2 separate regions of the Homo sapiens genome follow, and region 2 is linked to region 1. The links are contacts of gene promoters, found by promoter capture Hi-C in blood cells and fetal thymus (Javierre and others, 2016). All regions are on one chromosome and are shown on one strand. The core of a region is centred on a gene start or on the middle of the fragment in contact, and the rest is flanking DNA. Distances in the headings are between cores, read along the strand shown.

The links. The method cuts DNA at HindIII sites, captures the fragments that hold promoters and counts their contacts. A CHiCAGO score of 5 or more calls a contact.
Region 2: a fragment that was not itself captured here is called in contact with the fragment with the promoter of SCN4A in region 1 in 1 of 17 cell types (total B cells); the score reaches 5.0 in total B cells.

What each region holds. Positions count from the first base shown.
Region 1 is chr17:63,971,459-63,977,690 of GRCh38, forward strand. It overlaps SCN4A (sodium voltage-gated channel alpha subunit 4), which reads right to left and starts at 1,460. Exons shown (of 24, transcript NM_000334.4): 1 at 1,111-1,460; 2 at 894-1,012; 3 at 678-767; 4 at 264-392. The coding sequence starts at 1,383. The HindIII fragment of the contact is 13,365 bases long and covers 1-6,232 here.
Region 2 is chr17:64,072,914-64,079,343 of GRCh38, forward strand. It overlaps ERN1 (endoplasmic reticulum to nucleus signaling 1), which reads right to left. Exons shown (of 22, transcript NM_001433.5): 5 at 2,262-2,334. Among named protein-coding and RNA genes, the nearest start is that of ERN1, 54 kb to the right of the region's middle. RefSeq lists silencers at 1,493-1,552, 2,036-2,330 and an enhancer at 1,773-1,852. The HindIII fragment of the contact is 755 bases long and covers 3,614-4,368 here.

The sequences.
Region 1 (6,232 bases), core at 210-2,709:
ATGGCAAAGATAGCCCGGCTCACCCAGCAGGTGAGGACCCATGGGTCTGTGGGTCAGGGCTGCCTCATGTGATTATCAGGAGTCCATCAGGAGAGTGCTGAGCCAGACCCTGAGAATGGCAGCTTCTAGAATTGTGCAGCTCCCCATCTGCACAACTGACCGATGTCCCCTGCAGCCCTCAGCCCAGGCAGCTTCCCTCTTTAAGGCCTGGCCCCCTCCCCTCACCCACCCCAGCCTCAGGATGTCCTGGGGCCCCTGCTCACGCCATCATGATGACACTGAAGTCCAGCCAGTTCCAGGGGTCCCGGAGGAATGTGAAGTCGTCGACACAGAAGCCTCGGGCCAGTATCTTGATGAGGGACTCAAAGGTGTAGATCCCTGTGAAGGTGTACCTGGGGGGGAGAGGGCCGGCCGGGACAGGCATGTCACCTGGGTAGGGGTCAGTGTGGCAACGACAGACCCCCAGAAGGGAGGGACACAGAAATGAAATATGCCACTCAGGTGGCTAAGGACACTAGCGAGTGATAGCATGGCCACCCCAGGGACTCAAGGTGTGGATGAGGGTCACAATGACAGTGTGTCTCCCTGAAAGACAAGAGCAGCACCACACAGAGGTGCAAACACCTGAGATGGGCTGTGTCCCAGGGCTGGGGAGCTCAGGGAGCAGGGAGACTTACTCCACATTCTTGGACCAGGGAGGCGGGTCACTCATGGTCATGAATACGCAGTTGGTCAAGATGGTGATCATGATGAACATGCTGAACAGCGTGGGGCAGGGTCAAGGAAAGTGAGGAAGCAGCTAGGATGGGAGGTGATAGAGGGTCTCCTGGGCCACAGCACCCCATCTCGCCCATCCCTAACCCCTCCCGCCTCTCCCATCTTGGGCAGGATATGCATGGATGAGCACCTTGATGGCCCCGCGCCTGACTACGCTGAAGGGGCTCAGCAGGTAGAGAGCAGGTGTGGCGGAGAAGCGGAAGATGGCCTTGCCCTTGTTGAGTACGATGAAGGTCTAAGGTGGGAGAGAGGCTGTGAGACCCAGGGACAGACAGACAGGCAGACAGATGGATGGATGGCAGACAGACAGAGGAAGCCTTCCCAGGCCCAGACCTTCTTATTGCTGTAGTAGGGATCCAGGTCCTCCAGGGGGATGCCGATGACCTCCGGCGGGGGGTCTCCGTAGATCATGGGTAGGTTCTTGCCAGCCTCCAAGTCACTTCGTGGCTTCCGTTCGGGCTCCTCAATCTCCATCTGCTTATTCCGCTGCAGCCGGGCCTCCTCCTCCACCGCCCGCTGTTCTATGGCTGCCAGTGACTCCCGGGTGAAGGGGCGCAAGCACTCAGGGCCCAGAGGCACCAGGGTGCACAGAGATGGTCTGGCCATCCTCGCATCCTGGGCTCAGAGACCAGAAGGGTGGTGGGTGGCCTGGGGAGCTGCAGTGCGCAGCCCCGGGGTGCTGGGCGGCCGCCCCTCCCTGGGCGGGCCGTCCACTCCTCACCTCCTGCTTGCCCAGTGGCCGAGCCGGGGAGGTGGGCGTGCAGACTCTATCAGGACTGGGAGATGTGCCTGCAAGGTGCTGCTGCTGCACAGGTGCTGGGCACAGAGCATCACCCCTGGCCCCCCCACCACACTTTCCCCAGAAGTGGCAGCGGCTGCCCTCAGGACCGACGGCAAACCAACCAGATTCTTTGTGGCCTTGGGACTTGGGGTCAACACCCCAGTGCCTTCGACTGCCTCCTGGGCCCAAGCTCCGGGAACTGTGTGGCTTCAGCCTAATGGGACAGAGAGAGAACCACAGCTGGCTGTGCTCAGGCGACCTCTGGATAGGCCAGGATGAGGGGCCTGGTTGGGGGGTTAGATCAAAGTGGGACTGGCACAGGGACTTCACCCTGAGGGCCGACGTGGATCCTGATATTGGCCACCTGGAGATGTAGGTGGAGACCATGAAGGTGGCAGCCAGGCTCTGTGCAAAAAGGTTGCTGTGATTGATTAGTGATGTCTGCCAGGGGCGCAAGGAGGAAGACCGTGGTGCCTCTGCCTGTGTTTGCCATCCCTGGCCTGGAGGGAAGGGAAAAGAAAGATGGGGGTGGGTGTGGATTCCTCTTTCCTGATCTTTGGGGTACTTGGTGTTGGGCTGGGAGAGGGAAGAAGAAAGGGCCCTGGGCCCGGCAGGGGTCTCCTAGCAGTTCCCTCCCACAGCCCTGGGGGCTCTAGCCCACTGGGCAGGCAGGGTGAACTGGGAGAGGAACATTGCATCTGGAGAGCTGCAGGTGCTAACGTGGAAGAGAAGACGTACAGGGAAGGTCACAGGGACAAGGAGATGGACAACTCCAATGGTGGGGGCAGGGCTAGAGCTCCTGGGGACTGCTTTTGGCTGGTGGTCCCAGCACAAGCTGGATTGGGGGAAGGGGCATCCACAAGGAGCCTTTGATGCCTGTGAGCATTGTGTGGTCTGGGCCCCACCTGGCCCCTCTCCCCTTCTGCCCAGCCCTCCAGAGCCTATTCCTGTGGAAGGGAAGGGGGATCACTTATTGCAAATGGCCCTGGGGGAATGACCACATCAGCAGGCAGTTGCAGTGAGACCCCTGCAGACCAGCTGCAGGCAGCCACTGCCAGACCCACATGGACAGACCTGGAGCCACCCCTGCACCACAGGGACCTGGACAGACCCCTAGAGACCCCCAAAGCCACACCTGAGGGTGGACCTCTCCCAGTGGGCCTTGACCCTTGCAGCAGCGCCCCTGCCCTGGTCAGCACGGGCGCTTCTCAGGCTTGCTCAACAGGTGGGGAGGGTGGCCAGGGAGAGGCCAGAGCCACTGGGCAGAGCTGGCCACGCCCTTGTGCCTGGCTCCCAGCTGCTCCTTACAGCACCCAGGGAGTCGTGTTTCCACGGGGATGACTCTGCTTATTCCTGCCAACCCTGCCCTCAGCTGCTCACTGGCCCCTGTCGTGAGCGTGGGCGTGCATGTGCACACACTTGCACACACAGGCACATGCACGCACACCCGGCCTGGAGCCACCCCACATGCAGACCTTCCCAGTTGCATCTCACAGCTCTGTCATATACCTTGCCACCTTCCTCCCCATCACCCACTCCACGTACACCCCCACATGCTGCTTGTCACTACACAGAAGGCGCCAACCAGCCAGATGGCCTTGAAGAGACCCCAGGGCTGCTGTGCACCCACCCAGTCTGCAGTCCCTGCTGTGATGATCCTCCTGTCCTGATACTGCTCACTCTTTTCATTACACGAGCCCAAGTAGGGCCACAAAAGCCCACAGACACATAGTCTGGCTCCCAACCCCAGCACTCGAGGAAATGACTCTCACCTGAGTCACCAGAGCTCCCCAGGGGACAGATCCAGTGTTTTCTTCCCCGCTGGCCCTCCTGAGCTTCCCACACCGCACACCGCCTTTCTTCTTGGGAGCAGGACATCACCTGTGCGTCCGGCCACTCTCCCCAGCTCTGCTCTGGGACCTGCCCCTTCCCTGCCCCTGGAAGATGCTTCTTCTCTGGGGCCTGCTCTGCAGCCTGTTTTCTTTGCACAGCGTACACCTCTCCCTTCAAAATGTTCACTTCCTCCTAATTTCCTCTTCTCCTACTCCTCCATTACCCCTGAGGTCTGGCTGTTTTGTAATGTGAGGGGAGGAATGTCCTCACTGGTTCCACTTGCTGAAGCTGGCTTTGGTTGGTGGCTGCCCGAAGCATCATGGTGGTAGATCTGGCCAGTTCCACACCCTACTGATGCTCCCTCTCCAGTGTCACTGCCCTCTCCACCCTCCACCCCTCACCTGTTCTGTTCAAATAACCTCCCCGCGTGGTGACATGCTCCTGTAGTCCCAGCTACGAAGGCAGGAGGATCCCTTAAGCTCAGGAGTTCGAGGCTGCAGTGAGCCATGATGGTGCCACTGTCCTCCAGCCTGGGTGACAGAGTGAGACCCTGTCTCAAAAACCAACCAAAGAAACACCTCCCACCAGGCTCTCCCCTAGACTGCCATAAATATTTGTAAAGTCACAAATTTCACCCCCTGCTTAAATCTTCAATGGCTTTCCACTGCTTAGGAGTACGTCCTAAGCCCTACCCAGGGCTCCCAAGGCCCTCCATGATCAGATCCCTGCCTCATTGCCTACCCTTCCCGCATCCTCTGGCCATGCTACCTCCATTTTCACAAATGGGCCAAGCTGTTTTCCACCCCCCTGCCCTAACCCCCATGCCTTTGCTTGTGGTTTGCTCTCCTCCCAGAGCACCCATCTTCTTTGTCTCCCTGGAGAGCTTCCATTCATCTTTCTAGACTCAACCCACACAAGAACCACCTCCTCCAGGAAGCCCTCCCTGGGTACCCTGGCTGGGTGGAACTCTCCCCTTGTTTGTGTCACCAGCTCAATAAAAGTTTATCAAATGAATAAGTGAGTGAATCACAGGGACACTCTACCTTAGCTCTTTTCTCCTTTAAGCATACCCTGAACCTAAATCATAACCAGAAACCATATCTCCTCTGAAATCACCACTTCAAACTCTTCCTTTGCCCCTGCCACCTTCTCAGCTCCTGGCTCAGGGGCCCGGTTGCTATAATCTTTGGGCACTTTCAGTTCTTTGACCCTGCACTTTCTCCCTTTCCACCTGCTTCTGACTTCATGTCCCTCCTCATCTAGGCTTACTTAGAAGATCATCATTCTGGTCCCTCCTCCACAGCTCCCAGGGAGAGATCCCAGAAGGAGGGATCTCTCTCCTTCTATCACACAGTCCTGGGGAACCCCTAACTGCATGTCCCCAGCTCTGGTTTTCCAAAGTCAGCCCCGAGCTGGAGAAATGTGGCTGGGGAAATGGTATGACTAGGCTGAGCTCACCGTAAATTCATGGTCACATATTCTGGGTTTGTCCTCAATCCTGCCAGCCCTGTAGTGTGGATTTTTCTGGTAGGCTCACTTTTCCACTTTTTGAAAACAACTATTTCATGCCTTCTCCTCTTTCCTCAGACCTCCGCGCTCCTCCCCATGAGCCTCCCAGCTGATGGTCTTCCCTGAGGAAGGAAGAACCACTACACACACACTGTCAAATCCACAGAACCATCTCCCCATCCCACCCCGTCTTCCTCTATCCTGTTAGAATAATAATAAGAAGCAAGGGTCAGGCTTTCCTGGGGCTCAGGACCCCAGCCCCTCTTGCTTCTCAAAGACCTCTCCAGGTGCCCTCTCTCTACTGCCCATCCACCTCTCCCCATCTGTGAACAGACTCTAGTGTCCCCCACTTTAAAAACAATGGCAGTGGTGACAAAACTATTCTCCTGGCCCCACACCTCCCTGCATCTATTGCCCTATTTTTCTTTCCTCTTCACAGTAAAACTTCTTGGAAAGTGTCTACACCAGCTGTCTTGACTTCCTTACCTTTCATTCTCTCTCCAATCCATTCCAACCTGGCTTCCGTTTCCCCTTCAACTGAAACTACTTTTGTCAAGTCACTAACACCCTCCCTGCTGCCAAGTCCAGTGAACACGCTTCTGTCCTCAGCTCCCAGAGCCTCTCAGAAGCATGCAGCCCAGTTGGCCACAGCCCCTTTCTGGAAGCACCTGATTCTCACAGCCTCCATGGAAGCTGCTTGCTGTTTCCCTTCCACATCCCTGGCTGCTCCGTATCACTTTCCTCTGCTTGTCCTGATTTCTGTCCCCAATCTCTAATGTTTTTCAGGGTTCGAGCTGGTTCAGGGTGGCATCATTCCTATGACCATAAATAATGTCATGGGGCCAGGCACGGTGGCTCACGCCTGTAATCCCAGTGCTTTGGAAGGCCAAAGTGGGAGGATCGTTTGAGCCTAGGAATTGGAGACCAGTCTGGGCAACATAGTGAGACCCTGTCTCCACAAAAAACAAAATAATTAGCTGGGTGCGGTGGTGTGTGCCTATAGTCCCAGCTATTCGGGAGGCTGAGGCAGGAGGATCACTTGAACCCACGGAAGTGGAGTCTGCAGTGAGCTGTGATTGCACTACTGCACTACAGCCTCGGCGATAGAGCAAGACCGTGTCTCTAAAAATCAATAAATACAATAAAATAATAAATTAATTATAAAATAATAAGTTCATGAATAAAATAATAGTAATGTCATGGGAATGTGATAAACGTTTCCCTTGACGTCCAGGCTGGTATATTCAACTGCCCCCAGACGGCTCCACCGGGATGGCTCACACCCTCCCAACTGCAATCAGACGTTTGCATCTTCCACTGTTCCACCCTTCA
Region 2 (6,430 bases), core at 2,741-5,240, 100 kb after region 1:
ATCTTCCTAACTTATTGGAAAAGTCTCCTGTTTTGGAGACTCTTAGAAGAAGAATATTGAGATGCTGGAGAAGGTCACAGAGCCTTTGAAATTTTTTTTTTTTTTTTTTTGAGACAGAGTCTTGCTCTGTCGCCCAAGGAGGAGTACAGAGGTGTGGTCACGGCTCACTGCAGCCTCAAACTCCTGGACTCAAGTCATCCTTTTGCCTCAGCCTCCCCATAGTTGAGACTACAGGCATGTGCCACTATGCCTGGCTCTTTTTTTATTTTTTTTGGGATGGAGTCTCGCTCTGCCGCCCAGGCTGGAGTGCAGTGGAGTGATCTCGGCTCACTGCAACCTCCACCTCCCAGGTTCAAGCGATTCTCCTGCCTCAGCCTCCTGAGTAGCTGGGACTACAGGTGCGTGCCACCACACCCAGCAAATTTTTTTTTTTTTTTTTTTTTAGTAGAGACAGGGTTTCACCGTGTTAGTCAGGATGGTCTCCATCTCCTGACTTCGTGATCCACCCAACTCGGCCTCCCAAAGTGCTGGGATTACAGGTGTGAGCCACCATGCCCGGCCACCTGGCTAATTTTTATTTATTTTTTATTTTTTTTGAGACGGAGTCTCGCTCTGTCGCCCAGGCTGGAGTGCAGTGGTGCAATCTCAGCTCACTGCAACCTCCGCCTCCAGGGTTCAAGCGATACTGCTGCCTCAGCCTCCTGAGTAGCTGGGACTACAAGCATGTGCTACCACGCTTGGCTTATTTTTCGTATTTTTAGTAGAGATGGGGTTTCACTGTGTTAGCCAGGATGGTCTCGATCTCCTGACCTCGTGATCTGCCCGCCTCAGCCTCCCAAAGTGTTGGGATTACAGGCGTGAGCCACTGCACCTGGCCTACACCTGGCTGATTTTTTAAAAATGTTTCTTCTGTAGAGACGGGGTCTCACTATGTTGACCAGGCTAGTTTCAAACTCCTGGCCTCAAGCAAACCTCCTGCCTCACCCTCCCAAGGTACTGGGATTACAGTTGTGAGCCACTGCACCTGGCCTGTAATTTGCTAATGCTATACCTCTAAAGTTCTAACAGATGTTGCATACATGCCTGCTCCACATGTGTGCAACTTACCCATGGATCGCAACTCTGTTCTCACTGACAAAATCATAATATGAATATGATCTGAAGGTAGAGGAGAACAGAGCTAGGACCACGAACCTTTTCCATCTAGCATGACATAGCTGGTTACTTCAAGAACCACTAGAGTTTACATAACTCAGTTATTACTTTAATGGGTAGATTGGGCAACTACCATGCTCTTAAATATGTTTAATGAACTCGCCTAAGAGGCCACAGCACAAAGATGATAAGAAGACAATATCCTAAGCAGACTATAAGTGATGAATTGCTGGCAAAAGCTGGAAGACCAGATAGGACACAGTGACATGGATGGTCAGAAGATTATCAGATGTTCCCAGGTCACGGCCCACAGAGAGAAAAATCTGTGCCGATCGTTTCCTCCAAATTCCTAGGCTGGGAGTTCCTCATTCTGAAGGTGTGGAAGGAAGCAAGAGTCTCAGTGTCCTGAGCAAAACCTTAAAAGTCTGGCCTGCACTTGAGACCCAGAAATACACATAAAGCTCCTCGAGGCATGAATAGGCAATAAGCACTTTCAGTTCCTCAAAAAGAAAGCTGCTGTATAAATACGGGCTATTATTGCTACTATGATTTCAAGATAAATACAGCTCTCCTTTGTGTTGCAAATGCTTTTTTATTGACATTTTGGCAGCAACATAGTAAAAGAAAAGCAGGTGATCTGATGCTTTGAAAGCTGTGACCCCATAGGTATGAAGGCAGTTTATCTAGGCAAGCTATTAAGTGCTGTTCTATCAAACATTCTGATAGCAGGAAATACTAAGAAAGCGCTATAATTAACAGGCAGAGCCTGGCTTTCCTTCCTTGGCTTAGATGATTGTACTCACTTTAAATTTCATCCATTTGCCACTGGGTATGTTGCAATCTTGGAATCTCAGGACTAAGTCAACACAGCAACTAAAAGCTTGTTAAATGAGTAACCATATTAATGATGTCAATTCTTCTCCCAAGTTGGGGGAGCCCTTTCTTAATTGGTCAGCTGATCCTGGGGAGAACAGCACCTGAAGCACAACCCAGGAAAGAAAGGGTTGGCAAGGCGGTGACTGCGCCCTCTCTCTCCGCATGCCACTTTCCCAGATTCCGGGACTTACATCAAAGAGACACAAGTTTCTGGAGACAGGAACTCTTACCCATGTAGAGGATTCCATCTGAACTTCGGCATGGGGATGCCTGCACCAATTCTGGGATGGTAAAAGGAAGTTTCTTTAAAAAAAAAAAAAAAGAAAAAAAAAAGTTAACCAAGTCTTGTGCAATTATTACAATTTTACCAGGCAGTTTGTTTCTATTACCTAATTCTGCTAAAAAGAGAGAAGCACTTTGCAGATGAGAGTTTTCCTAACTGAATACAAAGGAGAAGGGGGCACCCTATGCTTCCACATCTACTGTGTTTTTATTTTCATTTTTTTGAGACAGGGTCTCATTCTGTCGCCCAGGCTGGAGTGCAGTGGCACCATCTTGGCTCACTGCAACCTCTGCCTCCTGGGTTCAAGTGATTCTCTCACCTCAGCCTCCCAAGTAGCTGGGATTACAGGCATGTTGCCACTACACCCAGCTAATTTTCCACATCTATTTTGACAAGCTCCCAGGTCCCTGAGCTCTGTAAACATCCACTCCTTTACTTGACACCATGTGCAGAGGCCCCTCAAGGTCTCCTGTCCAGGGTGCTTCCCAGGGGTGACACAAACCTTTTCTGAAAAGATTTACACAAATATGGAGAGTTATATATTCTTTGAAATGCTAAGAAAGAATTGTCCTGGCTTGGAATACAGAGCCAGAGCTGGCTAGACTGAGTAAAATGACAGTGCTTTGTAGAGCCCCATGGGAGGGAGCCAGGACATTGATGCTGAAGGGATGCAACCTTGGTGCCAAGCTCAAGCTTCGAGGGAAAGGAGAAGTCGCCATTACAGGGGCAACACAAGAGTTTGAGGTGGAAAAGAGTTTTGATGTTTTCTTCAGTAAATAATTCACTATTGAAAAACAAGAAAAATTGAGACTTTTGGTTTTAAAGAGGAAGTTAAGATAGGTGCCAGGAAAAGAAACTCAAAGGAATCCAAATGTTTCAACTGCATTTCATCATAAAACTGATTCTTCTGAGTCTACAGCTGACATCTGACGAGCTCTTTTGGTTAATGCTTGTTTCAGTATACTTTATTTTTAGAACATTCTGTGTTTTTGAAATTGTTCTATAGATACCTGCTTTTATAGAAATGCCTCTACTGCATGGTCACCTTTTTCTCCAAGAAAGAAAAGATTTCTCTCTAGCTTTAATAAGCAGAGCTTTGCATACTAAATAACTTGGATTTTCCCATCATCCCAACATTCAAACCAAGCCTCAGAGGAGGAAAAATGCTTCAGAGAGGCTGCAATGACTGGGTTTTGCCATGTGTTTCTGAGAATCAGAAAGGCACTGCAGATCTTCTAGTCTTCTGGAGTCCTGTGGTCTCTGCTGAGCACTGCCACTGGTGCCCTGATTCAAGGCCCAAGCTTGGGAAACATTGTTTCTGGAGCTGCTAAACCACAACCCAGAAAGGAGCACAAGGGAGTGATGAAGGGCATCCTCTTTTTTTTTTTTTTTGAGACGGAGTCTCACTCTCACCCAGGCTGAAGTGCAGTGGCGTGATCTCGGCTCACTGCAAGCTCCGCCTCCCGGGTTGATGCCATTCTCCTGCCTCAGCCTCCCAAGTAGCTGGGACTACAGGCGCCCGCCACTGCGCCTGGCTAATTTTTTGTATTTTTTAGTAGAGACGGGGTTTCACCGTGTTAGCCAGGATGGTCTCGATCTCCTGACCTTGTGATCCGCCCGCCTCGGCCTCCCAAAGTGCTGGGATTACAGGCCCGGCTGGGCATCCTCTTTAAGAACCAACTCCAACACTAGAAGACTCAGCCCTGGACATATTCCTTCACTTCTCCAGGCTGTTTCCACACCTCTAAAACGGGGATATCACCCACAGGGCTGCTGAGAGATTCCAATGAGATAACTTATACAACTCACTCACCCCAGTTTCTGGCAAACAAATTGCTTAAGAAATGGGGACTACAGAGCTGTGGAGAGAAACCAACGGAGAGCAGTGTTGAAGGTGAAATACACACAGCTCTATACAAACTTGCCCTCCTCCCCTCTGTTTTGGTCACAGGCATTCACAAAATAATTTTAAAACACCCAAGTTAAAGTCCACAATCCACTTACAGCCTAGATCAGTGGTTCTCATCCTTGGTTGCCCATGAGAATTACTTGGAAGCTTTAAAAACTTCCTACTGATGCATAATACGCAAACAGAAAAGCACTCATCATCACACAGCTCAGTCAAGTTTCACAAAGTGAACATACCCACGTAACCGGCATCCAGGTGAAGAAACAGAAGCCCCCCTCCTCTCTTGCCCCCCTTTCTAGCCATAACTCTCCAGGGGTAACTATTATCCTAACTTCAAAACAGCAGAGACTCGTTTTTCCTGTTTTTGGCTTTACATAAGTGAATGGCAGCGTGTGGCCTTTTTTGTCTGTCATGTTTTGCTCAACATCACGCTTGTGAGTCATCCGCGGCGTGTGTCGTCATAGACTGTTGGTCCTCATCACCGTGCATGCCGCTTCCAGAGTTTATTTTTCCACTCCACTGTGGATGTTATTTGGCCACCCTCTGCTTATTATAAATGGTGCTGCTGTACATTTGGGCACATGTCCATTGGTGAACAAAAGTGCATTTCTTCTTTTTTTTTTTTTTGAGATGGAGTCTCGCTCTGTTGCCCAGGCTGGAGTGTAGTGGCGTGATCTCAGCTCACTGCAAGCTCCACCTCCCGGGTTCACGCCATTTTCCTGCCTCAGCCTCCCAAGTAGCTGGGACTATAGGCGCCCGCCACCGCACCTGGCTAATTTTTTGTATTTTTAGTAGAGACGGGGTTTCACCATGGTCTCGATCTCCTGACCTCGTGATCCGCCCACCTTGGCCTCCCAAAGTGCTGGGATTACAGGCATGAGCCACCGCACCCAGCCACAAATGTGCATTTCTGTTGGGTCTGTAACCTAGGAGGGCATTACTGGGTCCTAAGGACTTTAGCACTTACTGCCAACAGTTTTCCAAATCACTTGTGCCACCCTGCACTTCCGCCAGCAGTAGGTGAGAGTCCTGGTTGCTCCACATCACCAACATGTTTTCTTTTTCTACTTTCCTTGTTTTGGCCATTCTGGTGAGTAGCAGTATGGCACTGTGGCTTTAATTTGCATTTCCAAATGACTAATAAAATGGAACATCTTTTCATATGTTTATGACCATTTGGATATTCTCTTCTGTTATTCTTCCATTGGGCTGTCTTTTTTTAACGTACCATAGGATTTCTTCATATATTCTGAATATGAACTTTTGTTGGATGTGTATACTACAAATACTTTGTGGCCTCTTAATGAGGAAAAGTTCTTAATTTTAATATAATCAATATATTGATTTTTTCCTAAATTTATAGTGTTCTTTAATATCCTACTTAATAAATCTCTACTTACTCTAAGATCATGAAGATGGTTCCATTACTTTTTTTCTTAAAGCTTTATTATTTTGCATTTCACATTTAGATGTGTGATCTATCTGGAACTGATTTTATATGTGTTGTAGGGGGGTAGGAGTCAATACTTTTATTCCTATATGGATATCCCAATTGACCTACACCACTTATTGCAAAAACACTGTAAGCTGGGTGGTGGTGGCTCACGTCTGTAATCCCAGCACTTTGGGAGGCTGAGGTGGGTGGATCGCTTGAGCCCAGAAGTTGGAGACCAGCCTAGGCAATATGATGAAACCCCATTTCTACCAAAAATACAAAAAATTAGCTGGGCGTGGAGATGTACACCTGTGGTCCCAGCTACTCAGGAGGCTGAGGTGGGAGGCTGGCTTGAGCCTGTGAGACGGAGGTTGTAGTGAGCCAAGATTGTGCCACTGCATTCCAACCTGGGTGACAAAGTGAGACCCTGTCTCAAAAGAAAAGAGAAAAGACAAGACAGGACACTGCAGTGTCACCTTTGTCACATATCAGATGACCATATGTGTGGGCCTGTTTCTAAATTCTCTTATCTGGGGAGCTTTTAAAAAGTCCTGATGACTTAGATCAATTAAATCGGGACCTTCTGGGATTGGGCCCTATGTTCTAGGTCCTAATGCTGTTTTTTCGAATTCCAGGTTATTACAATGTATAATTAAGGCTGAAAACCACTGGTTTAGATTCTCAAATGGAAATGAGGGTAGAATATCACATGACTCCCTTAAGGAGTCATCGGAAGGTGGGGCAGGTGGAGACAGCATTTCAAACTATATCC